Linked DNA regions of Homo sapiens: region 2 is linked to region 1. Evidence: promoter capture Hi-C in 16 types of primary human blood cells and fetal thymus (Javierre and others, 2016). All regions are on one chromosome and are shown on one strand. Each heading gives the region's core, a stretch centred on a gene start or on the middle of the fragment in contact. The rest is flanking DNA. Distances are from core to core; before and after follow the strand shown.

Region 1 (5,840 bases), core at 2,206-4,705:
ATATAATTCACATACCATATGATTCACTCATTTAATGTGTAAAGTTGAATGTCTTTTAGCATATTTTCAGAGTTGTGTATTCACCATTATAATCAATTTTTAGAACATTTTCATTATCCTAAAAAGAAACCCCATACCTATTAGCAGGCACTCCCATTTCCCCTCATCTCACCCTCTCATGCCCCTGAGACCTAGCCAATCACTAAATTCACATTTCATACGAATGGAATTGTACAATATGTGGTCCTTTGTGACTGACTTCTTTCACTTAGCTTTTTCAAGATTCAGCTGTATCTCTGGGCATGGTGGCTCACGCCTGTAATCCCAGCACTTTGGGAGGCCAAGGTGGGTGGATCACCTGAGGTCAGGAGTTTGAGATCAGCCTGGCTAACGTAGTGAAACCCTGTTTCTACTAAAAATACAAAAAATTAGCCGGGTGTGGTGGCGCACACCTGTAATCCCAGCTACTCGGGAGGCTGAGGCAGGAGAATCGCTTGAACTTGGGAGGCGGAGGTTTCGGTGAGCTGAGGTTGCACCATTGCACTCCAGCTTAGGCAACAAGAGCGAAATTCCATCTCAAAAAAAAAAAAAAGATTCAGCTATGTCATGGCATGTACTTAAAATTTTTGTTTTCTTTTCTATTCTTTTTTTTTTTTTTTGGAGACGGAGTTTTGCTCTTGTTGCCCAGGCTGGAGTGCAATGGCTCGATCTTGGCTCACCACAACCTCCGCCTCCCAGGTTCAAGCGATTCTCCTGCCTCAGCCTCCTGAGTAGCTAAGAATACAGGTGCGGGCCACCACGCCCGGCTAATTTTGTATTTTTAGTAGATACAGGGTTTCTCCATATTGGTCAGGCTGATCTTGAACATCTGACCTCTGACCTCAGGTGATCCGCCCGCCTCGACCTCCCAAAGTGCTGGGAGTACAGGTGTAAGCCACCGTGCCTGGCCAAAAAAAATTTTTTTTTTTTTTTTTGTCAGGGATGAAGGTCTCACTATGTTGCCCAGGCTGGTCTCCAACTCATGGCACAAGCCATCCTCTTGCAAGTGCTGAGATTACAGGCGCGAGCCACCACGCCTACTCCCCTCCCCTCCAACGACTTTCTTTTTATTGCCAAATAATAGTCCATTGTATACCTATGTCACATTTTATCCATTCATCAGCTGATGGTTATTTAGCTGAATTTTATTTTAACTAAATGTTATCTCTGATAACTGGCAGAAGCTTAAAATCAAGACATAAGTGTGTATCTTTCTATGTTGAACGTATACCTAAAGAAGTATACTTATTAGGAATGACAATTAAAATCTCGTACTTGAAAAATCGATACTTTTTTCTTTTTTCTTTTTTTTTTTGAGATGGAGTCTCACTCTGTCGCCCAGGCTGGAGTGCAATGGTGTGATCTCTGCTCACTGCAACCTCCGCCTCCCAGGTTCAAGCTATTCTCCTGCCTCAGCCTCTTGAGTAGCTGGGATTATAGGTGTGCACCACCATGCCCGACTAATTTTTGTACTTTTTAGTAGAAATGGGGTTTCACCATATTGTTCAGGCTGGTCTTGAACTCCTGACCTTGTGATCCACCCGCCTCGGCCTCCCAAAGTGCTGGGTTACAGGCATGAGTCACCACGCCCGGCTGATACTTTTTTCTTTAAATTTTTTGATGTGTATGATAATATTGTGGAAAGAAAAAGTAAAGCCTTGCCCTATGTTTTTTGGCTCTTCTGATCCCCCAGGAAAAGAGAGGCATGCATATAGGTAGACCAGGTGAGTGACAGCCCTCAGGAAGAGAAAATAAAAGAGGAGAGATTCAGATCAAGACTTTTTCTAGTTTTCAAATATGAAAGGTTAAGAAGAGAAAGGGCATTTGCGGCTCACAGCCAACCAGCTGGTCGGCATTCCTACTACCCAAATATCTAAATGACATAAGGGTGAATGTGGGGTGAGGGTGAGAACGGGAAAAAACACAGGCCGCAAATTCAGTCCCATCTGGCACTTCATAAGACTTAGTATTTTCATCTTTGTCCTTCCAAATTTATAGGTTTACTCTTGCCCAACCTTCATATTGTTTTTATGGGTCTCCAGGTGGGTCATGCGTAGGAAACTTTAGGGGACTACTTCATACTTGGTGGGAAGTACTTAAACTTGTAAACCCCAAGCTAAGGGTAGTTATGATCCCGGTGGGTGGCCAATTCTCCCCTTAAACCTATGTTTATCCTGCCTTTCCTCCCCCTTTTCTTAAACGAGTCGGGACGGAGAGCTGAGTCACCTGAGACACAGAGAAGGGACTTTTGAGAGTGTCTTCCGTCCCATTTGCGGACGTTAGATGAGCACACCGGGATCCTTGACTCAGCCCGCTCTAGGCGTGGGCGTTGTGTCATTCCCCACACGTGACACTCTCCCAGGCGGCAGAAACCTCACTTGTCATGGGACTTATTCACTCCAGTGACTCCACCCCTTACCTCCTCTGTTCCCCAACCTCCCACTTACCCTTTCCGCCCCACTTCAAGACTTGAGGAGAGGAGGGTGGCTGGAGCCTGGAAATGTCCCCGTCCCAAGTTGGCCAGAAGTAGCAGACACACTATGTGGGAAAGTGCCACATGTAACGTTCCAGTTTCACCCTTCTCCAGAATGCTATCACCCTTCCTGTTTATTTTTTAATAACTTGAGATATAATTCACACGCCATATGATTCACTCACTTAACGTGTAAAGTTGAATGTCTTTTAGCATATTTAGAGTTGTGTATTCATCACTATAATACATTTTTTAGAACATTTTTATTATCCCAAAACGAAATCCCATACCTATTAGCAGTCACTCCCATTTCCCCTCATCTCACCCTTGCTCTTCCATAGCACAAAACAGTTCTATTCTATTCGAGACCACCTTTCCACTTGGGCAGACCCTGGTTATGGTTTTTTTTCCCTCCCTTTCTGTTTCCAGTTTTTTTCGGAGCCCGGAATTCTCAATCTGGGTAATTGGTTTGAGTCCCGGCTCAGCCCGTTTCCCGTTGTAGCTGCGTGACCTTGAGAGCAACGCCACTTTCCTGGGCCTAGTTTCTTTGTCTGTGAAACGAGGTCCAAATATCTACCTCTTTACGCCTGTTGTGGGGATGAAGTGAGTAGGTGCTTTGTGAGCTTTAAAAAGCCATAGAAATGCCAGCTAAGTTAACTCGTCACTCTTCCCGAACCCCTCCCTTTCCCCTGGGACCCGCCCCGCGAATCCCGCTGTGGATGGATACTTCTCCCCACCCGCCGACCGCAGTCTTTCCCATTGGCGCCCGCACCGTCTTCGCGGCGCCGGGTGTTGACGCCATGGCTTCCTCCGCCAGCGCCCGAAGACGCTTGGCCCCGCCCCCGGCCGCGCCTGGCCTCCCGCGGCGCCCCGCCCATCGGGCCGACGCGGCGCCGGCCCCGCCCCGCGGATGACGTGTGGCGCGCGCGGCCGGGCCGCCCCGGCAGTTGGTGCAGCGGCGGTTGGGGTGAGAGCGCCTACGCCACCCCTCCCCTCCTCCGGCCCCGGCCCCCACCCCGCCGGGCCCAGCCCCAGCCCCGGCCCGGGCTCCAGCCCTAGTACCCGTCCCAGCCCGAGTCGGGTCCGTCCCGTGCGGGCAGGTGCCGCCCCTCTGCCGGCGACGCCCCGGGCCGCCCGCCCGTCCGCTTGCCACCATGGAGCTGGAGGACGGTGTGGTGTATCAGGAGGAGCCCGGCGGCTCCGGGGCCGTGATGTCGGAGCGGGTGTCCGGCCTGGCCGGCTCCATCTACCGCGAGTTCGAGCGGCTTATCGGGCGCTATGACGAGGAGGTGGTCAAAGAGCTGATGCCGCTGGTGGTGGCTGTGCTGGAGAACCTGGACTCGGTGTTCGCGCAGGACCAGGAGCACCAGGTGGAGCTGGAGCTGCTGCGGGACGACAACGAGCAGCTCATCACCCAGTACGAGCGGGAGAAGGCGCTGCGCAAGCACGCTGAGGAGGTGAGGCCGGCGGCAGGGCGGGGGCCGCGGGATCCGTCTCCGGGGGCGGCCGGGGCGGGGTCGCGGCCCGGTCGGGGACTAGAGGCGCGACGGGCCTCCTGGAGGGCGGGCCTGAGGCCGATGCCCCCTGGGACCGATCCCGGCGGCCTCCAGGTACCCCGGGAGCCAGGCCGGCGTTGGAAGCCGAGGCCGGCTACTGAGTGTCCTGGGAAGGGAGCGAGATGGAGGAGGCAGGGCCCGGGGAGGAAGCGGCAGCCTGGCCTGAGGACACCTGGGGTTGGCCAAGGGCGGAGATTGTTGGGTGTCTGGTTGCTTCTTGTTGAGGGAAGTTTCCGACCACCGTGGGATAGTCAGATGGCGGTTCAAAGTTTTACCCTTGGGGAGGGGGACACTTCTGCCCTGGATATGTAACTTCCGCTAGTTCCAGTACCTTTCCAGGGGGTTGCCTTGCTTTGGGAAGTTAGAGATCTCCCTCTTTCGGTCAGTTTCTTCTTGACGTTTTAATCTTGTTGAGAAAGACGTCTTATTTTATGTTCTATGTGCCTTGGTTGACACTTTGTCAACTTTTAGATGTTGTGTGGCAGTACTCAATAAATATATAAACAATTTCGTTGGTATCCCAAACCAAAGCATTCCTCCGTATCAGGTTGTAACCTTGGACAGTTCCCTTCAAAAACCCTCCGTTTATTTATAAAAAGGATTGGGGGGCGGGGTTGGGAAGATGTAGGTGACAGTTGGCAACACTTTTTCCGTCTGAGTTTCCTTCTTAGACTGCTGTTTATACGTGCATTTGGCCACCTGTTAACTCTAGCACCCGAGCAGTGACCTGGGCGCCCTCACCTCGACTCTGTGAACCTTTTGGAGTTCTAGGGTGCAAGTGATAGGTCCTTGGCTTCTTGAGACTGACAAGGAGTTTAGCTTTCAGCCTGCGTTGGCGTTATTTCTGTGGACCTTATCAAAGGCAGGTGATGTGTCCTATTTTTGTTTCTCAAGCACCTAGCACACCTGCTTAAATACATGGTGATCAAAGGAGGCGAAATAACTAATTATTGAAGGAATGACATAGTATTTTTCAAAAAGACTTGAAGAGTTTTTAGGATGTGAGGTTTGTAGCTCATTTCCTGACACTGAATAGTAACACCATTAAATTTTTGTTTTATTTTGTCACGTATACCTTTGCATCTGGTTAAATAGTTCTTTTTCCTTTTTTAAAAGCTTGACTGTAGTGATGATTTTTAGTTCTGATTGTGGGATCCAATTTTCTCAAAGGAATGCTATTGAATTTGCCAAACAAAATTGCCTTTTTTTTTTTTTTTTTTTGAGACGTAGTCTCACTCTGTCGCCCAGGGTGAAGTGCAGTGGAGTGATCTTGGCTCACTGCAACCTCTGCCTGCCGGGTTCAAGCGATTCTTGTGCCTCAGCTTCCTAAGGAGCTAGGACAACACTCCCCGCTCATTTTTGTTTTTTGTAGAGACAGGATTTCTCCATGGTGCCTAGGATGGTCTTGAACTCCTGGCCTCAAGTGATCTGCCCACTTTGGCCTCGGGCTGACCATCCCAGTGCTGGGATTACAGGCATGAGCCACCGCACCCCGCCAGAATGGACTATTTCAAGAGCTTTTCCTTTCATATAGGGAAGGAAGGGATGAAAAACCAAATAATGATAGGATCACAATTTCCGCTTGTTTGTTAGCACTCTTTATAGAACAGAGGTCAAGTGCTACTTGCTGCTTCATGCTCATATAGCCCCTTGCCAGTGTGTGGATATACATGGAAGTGACTGGGAATTAACCACATGTACACACAGGTGACAAGCAAGCCTGACATGACCTTTTACCTCACGTAAAATAAATGCTCCCTCCAGCCTTAAAC
Region 2 (6,123 bases), core at 1,795-4,294, 260 kb after region 1:
AGCCTCATCAGTGTCCAGCTCTCCATCGCCTCCTTTTGGTCACTCTGCTGCTGTAAGCCCTACCTTCATGCCCCGGTCCACTCAGCCTTTAACCTTTACCACTGCCACTTTTGCTGCCACCAAGTTCGGCTCTACCAAAATGAAGAATAGTGGCCGTAGCAACAAGGTTGCACGTACTTCTCCCATCAACCTCGGCTTGAATGTGAATGACCTCTTGAAGCAGAAAGCCATCTCTTCCTCAATGCACTCTCTGTATGGGCTTGGCTTGGGTAGCCAGCAGCAGCCACAGCAACAGCAGCAGCCAGCCCAGCCGCCACCGCCACCACCACCACCACAGCAGCAACAACAGCAGAAAACCTCTGCTCTTTCTCCTAATGCCAAGGAATTTATTTTTCCTAATATGCAGGGTCAAGGTAGTAGTACCAATGGAATGTTCCCAGGTGACAGCCCCCTTAACCTCAGTCCTCTCCAGTACAGTAATGCCTTTGATGTGTTTGCAGCCTATGGAGGCCTCAATGAGAAATCTTTTGTAGATGGCTTGAATTTTAGCTTAAATAACATGCAGTATTCTAACCAGCAATTCCAGCCTGTTATGGCTAACTAAAAAAAAGAAAATGTATCGTACAAGTTAAAATGCACGGGCCCAAGGGGGATTTTTTTTTTCACCTCCTTGAGAATTTTTTTTTTTAAGCTTATAGTAAGGATACATTCAAGCTTGGTTAAAAAAATAATAATAAAACATGCATCATTTTTCATTTGCCAACCAAGCACAAAGTTATTTTATACTGACTGTATATTTTAAAGTATACTCTCAGATATGGCCTCTTACAGTATTTAAGATATAGCAAGGACATGGCTGATTTTTTTTTATAAAAATTGGCACTAATAAGTGGGTTTATTGGTCTTTTCTAATTGTATAATTTAATTTAGTACAAAGTTTGTAAAATATCAGAGGATATATATATATTGTTTCTACGACATGGTATTGCATTTATATCTTTTTACTACAGTGATCTGTGACAGCAGCAGCTTCATGTTGTATTTTTTTTACTGAAATTGTAAAATATCCATCTTAAAGACATCAACTATTCTAAAAATTGTGTACAGGATATTCCTTTAGTGGTGGAATTAAAATGTACGAATACTTGCTTTTTCAAAAAAATGTATTTTCTGTTAAAAGTTTAAAGATTTTTGCTATATATTATGGAAGAAAAATGTAATCGTAAATATTAATTTTGTACCTATATTGTGCAATACTTGAAAAAAACGGTATAAAAGTATTTTGAGTCAGTGTCTTACATGTTAAGAGGGACTGAAATAGTTTATATTAAGTTTGTATTAAAATTCTTTAAAATTAAAAATGCCTATTGTCTTTGTTTTTAAGTGTTTTCTGAAGATCGACCTCTGGAGTTATTATGTTGTAAATGCTAATGATGGAAAAAGGCCTGACTCATTGAGTCACGAAGGAATAATGGAAAGCAGTTGCTCTACTGATGTACCAGATCGTGGTTTGCCACATAAAAAATGCTATCAAAACTATAGCCTGACCAGTGCTTGGTACAACTTTATTTTTTAACAGCCCTCTTCAGTCCACATTTGTCTACCCCATTATAGAGATGGTATGGTAAGGTTAGCTATACAGCAAGTTTCAAAATGTCATGCTGACATGGAGGAGTCAGGTGATAAGATGAAATTCCTTCGTGTAATCTGAGATGATTTATTTGAAATTTATATGGAGAGAGCATTGGATCAGTTTTCTGTTTTTGCTGAGGAAACTTGCTTGGACAAAACGGCTGACTGAACTTAGAAAAATTTACATCACTTTACTAATCTTTAAAGTTTAGCTATTGCATATAGCTAGAGAACTTATGGTCAAAATCTATTCACGGCTGGACAGATGGTTAGATGTTAGCATTTTCATTTTCCCAGCAAAAACGCTTATGTATTTAATTTTTTGCAAGTGGGTACCCAACCTGCTGGTTTGAAGGATTTAGAGATATTGACAATGTATCAAATTGGAGTGGCTTGGTGAGGATGGAGTTTTTTAAAACTGAAGAGTTGGGGAGAAGAACACTAAATGAGTCATTTCACTAAATGTCAATTGATACAGTATTGACATAGTATTGGTGAGAAAGTTAACGTCCATTTGATACAGTGTTGACATAGTATTGGTGAGAAAGCTGTCTTAAAAAACTTTATATGTACTTTTATAGTAAGAAACCAGCACTGCCTGGGTTACCAGTGAAATAAATTTGGTCTCATGAGCTTTTTGGACACCAGTCTACAAAAGCCTTTTGTCATTTACCCATGCAGTGTAGAGCAATACAAAGTTTTAAGGAAACAAGCACTGGAAATAACAGAGCTAAGCTGTTTGTCAGCTCCATGGTGAGGCTTTTGTTCTTTAGGGAACAGAACGAGGCTATGAAGAAGTATTGGAATAATGGGTGCAAGCAGCAGAGATCTGGTCTGCCAACACTTACCACTTACATGCTTTTGTGATCACGAAGTTTGAATAGCTGTAAGAACCATCAGGATAATGGCTTTAAGCACTAGTTTCTGCTACAGACTGATAAAGTTACATTTGGGAGAAAACTCTACTTATAAATGAAGGCTCAAGTGTAATGTGCTTTTTCTGAAAATCATAAGGCAGCTGGACGGAACATAATAGAATTTTTTTTTTTTTTGAGACGGAGTCTCTTGCTCTGTCACCCAGGCTGGAGTGCAGTGGCACCATCTCGGCTCACTGCAACCTTCCACCTCCCAGGTTCAAGTGATTCTCCTGCCTCAACTTCCCGAGTAGCTGAGACTACAGGCGCCCGCCACCATGTTGGCTAATTTTTGTATTTTTAGTAGAGACGGGGTTTCACCATGTTGACCAGGCTGGTCTCGAACTCCTGGCCTCAAATGAGCTGCCTGCCTTGGCTTCCCAAAGTGCTCTGATTACAGGCATGAGCCATTGCGCCTGGTCAACAATAGAATTTGAAACTGTCTGGAGCACTAATATATTCATTTTATTTTGAGACAAGGTCTCACTCTGTCACCCAGGCTGGAGTGCAAAGGGGCCATCTTGGCTTACTGCAACCTCCACTAAAGCGATTCTCCTGTCTCACTCTCCTGAATAGCTGGGATTATAGCTGCGTGCCACCGTTCCCTGCTAATTTTTGTATTTTTTGTAGAGGCAGGGTTTCGCCACGTTGCCTGGGCTGGTCTCAAACTCCTGAACTAAGGTGATCCGCCCGCATTGGCCTCCCAAAATGCTGAGATTACAGGCGTGAGCCACCACACCCAGCCAAGCACTAATATATTCAGATTTTAAATACTGAGGTTAACATAAGCCTGAATATCTGTTTCAGATCTTAAGGATATATGTATCGACAAAAATCTTAGGGAAATTTCATCTTGGTACATATGTTTGACATCGGAGAATGACTAACTCAAAATGTGATCTTGATTGGTTTTATTAAAACTTGAGCTTGGTGTCCTTGAGAACTTCATCTTTTTTTTTTTTTAGACAGAGTCTCGCTCTGTTGCCAGGCTGGAGTGCAGTGGTGAAATCTTGGCTCCCTGCAACCTCCGCCTGTCGGGTTCAAGTGATTCTCCTGCCTCAACCTCCCAAGTAGCTGGGACTACAGACGCGCGCCACCACGCCCAGCTAATTTTTATAGTTTTAGTAGAGACGAGACGGGGTTGGCCAGAATGGTCTCGATCGCCTGATCTCATGATCCTCCCGCTTTGGCCTCCCAAAATGCTGGGATTACAGGTGCGAGCCAACGCATCCAGCGAGGACTTCATAATTTTTTAAAAAATGAACAAAGGCCCTGTTTACATGCCCTTTTTGTTCATTAGGAATGGGAATTTTTTAAAAGGTGCTTTTGCCTAGCACATCTGAGAAAAGGTTACATCTTAGTTCCAAGTCATTTTCTCCCCAAGGTGCCATCACACTTTTGACTCTCTGTGGGGAGACCATTTCGGTTGACAATTTGATGAATTCGTTATTTTCACAGGCCTTTCCCATCTTTTTGACTCCTATAACTACAGATACTGTAGCAGCCTCTGAATACCCTGAGTGTCCAAAATGTTGCCTTACAGATTTCATAGCTCATGGATGAGTAAGGAATATTATACCAAAAAATGGCTTTCTAAGTTTAGTATATTCGTTTTCTGCCCTGCCTTGTCGTTTCTGAAATCAGGTACATTGTGAAATGTCCTTTTCGCCTATAATAGATGGCAAATGTAAATATAGGCCTTCTTCAAAATGCCTCCTTAAAGATAACAATATATGCTGTGATTAGTTAACTTAGCTTTTGAAGGTGAAACTAAAGGTACTCTGAGTTTAAAATATTTTTCCAGGGCAGGTGCTGTGGCTCATACCTGTAATCCCAGCACTTTGGGAGGCCGAGACAGGTGGATCACTTGAGGTCAGGAGTTTGAGACCAGCCTGGCCAACATGGCGAAACCCATCTCTACTAAAAACACAAAATTAGCCAGGTGTGATGGCATGCACCTGTAGTCCCAGCTACAGGCTGGGAGGGTGAGGCAGGAGAATCACATGAACCCGGAGGCGGAGGTTGCAGTGAGCCAAGATTGTGCCACTGCCTTCCAACCTGGGTGAGAAGAGCGAAACTCAGTCTCAAAAAAATAAAATAAAATAATGTTTTTCCAATCGGGTGTAAATTTCGTTCCCATATACATGTCTGGCATTTTAATTGAGAGACTTAATAAATCTTCAGGACTTCGATTATTTTAAAATAAGTCACTGTGACACAGAAAGAAACAAAGTATGTCTCATTGGACATACTTAAGCTAATGAAGTAAAATGCCGGTTGGTAGACCTTCCTTTATATCCTTTCGGTACACAAACAGAAAATGGCATAGGCATGCTACATCAGATACGTACCCTTGCTTGACTGGAAATGCATGCTTTTGTCAGATGCTGGGTGACAACTCTAGTGCAAAAACAGATACAAGAAAAACAGAAGACAAGTATGTAAAATGGTCACTGCTGAATAAAACCCATTGCATTGTTTAGTATACCAATCAATTGACGCTTAATCAGTTTGGCCCAGGAGGTCATTTGAGATCAGAGTGCTTTAGTTTTTGTGGTATATTAGGAAGATTATATCTTGTAGTTTAAATGATTTAGGATCAATTATCTGTGGGCATACAATTGGAAAATTAGCACATTTTCCAATTGCATGCCCAGTTTGAAACCATTTTTGAGTGGCTTATGTAAACATGTAGTTGGAGCCATTTTTAAAAATCTTTTAAATCAGGAAATAAACATATAGCACTTACTATGTGTCAAGTGTAGTTCTAACCCAGTTTATAGACTGGGTCAGGGGGAGGGGGATGGGACTGAGGCACAGAAAGCTTCACTGACCCAAGATTGCATGGCCAATACATGGCAGACTAGCGATTCAAATGCAGGTAGTGGTTCCAGAGTTCACGCTCTTAAGCACTATGCTTTGCTCCCTCAGATTAGTTGCTATTCTGATTTGAAGTCAGGGTAATAACACCATTTTCGATGTATTAGCTACGTAATTTGCAGAATCTTTACAAAAGTGTTAATGAGAGGGGTCTAGTGGAAGGCTATTAACCATGCTCAGAATATGCCATGATGATATTTTGAGTGAGACTTTATATTTCTATTGGTCATAAACTGAACTCATAGGCAATAAGGAAATGTTTTTAGAAATCATTGTTATATCATTGCTCTAGTTTTTTGTTTTTTTTTTTTTTTTTTTTTTTTTTTTTTTTTTGAGATGGAGTCTTGCTCTGTTGCCCAGGCTGGAGTGCAGTTGCACAATCTTGGCTTACTGCAACCTCTACCTCCCATGCAACCTCCATCTCCCAGGTTCAAGCGATTCTCCTGTCTCAGCCTCCTGAGTAGCTGGGATTACAGGTGCACACCACCACACCCAGCTAATTTTTGTATTTTTAGTAGAGACAGGGTTTCACTATATTGGCCAGGCTGGTCTCGAACTCCTGACCTCAGGTCATCTGCCCACCTCGGCCTCCCAAAGTACTGGGATTACAGGCGTGAGCCACCACACCTAGCAATGCTCTAGTTTTTTTGGTTTTCATAATTCAGTCATATAAATTACATCTCTTTTCAGAACTACT

Evidence for each region. The method cuts DNA at HindIII sites, captures the fragments that hold promoters and counts their contacts. A CHiCAGO score of 5 or more calls a contact.
Region 2: a contact is called between a fragment that was not itself captured here and the fragment with the promoter of SPAG9 in region 1, in 14 of 17 cell types (neutrophils, fetal thymus, naive B cells and 11 more). The highest score is 15.3, in neutrophils.

What each region holds. Positions count from the first base shown.
Region 1 is chr17:51,118,483-51,124,322 of GRCh38, reverse strand. SPAG9 (sperm associated antigen 9) reads left to right here and starts at 3,455. Exons shown (of 30, transcript NM_001130528.3): 1 at 3,455-3,969. The coding sequence starts at 3,667. RefSeq lists enhancers at 2,104-2,363, 2,973-3,202, 2,719-3,533, 3,823-3,942 and silencers at 3,343-3,722, 3,973-4,052, 4,073-4,202. The HindIII fragment of the contact is 3,961 bases long and covers 1,226-5,186 here.
Region 2 is chr17:50,857,461-50,863,583 of GRCh38, reverse strand. TOB1 (transducer of ERBB2, 1) reads left to right here. Exons shown (of 2, transcript NM_005749.4): 2 at 1-1,361. The coding sequence ends at 604. Among named protein-coding and RNA genes, the nearest start is that of TOB1, 5.8 kb to the left of the region's middle. The HindIII fragment of the contact is 4,656 bases long and covers 717-5,372 here.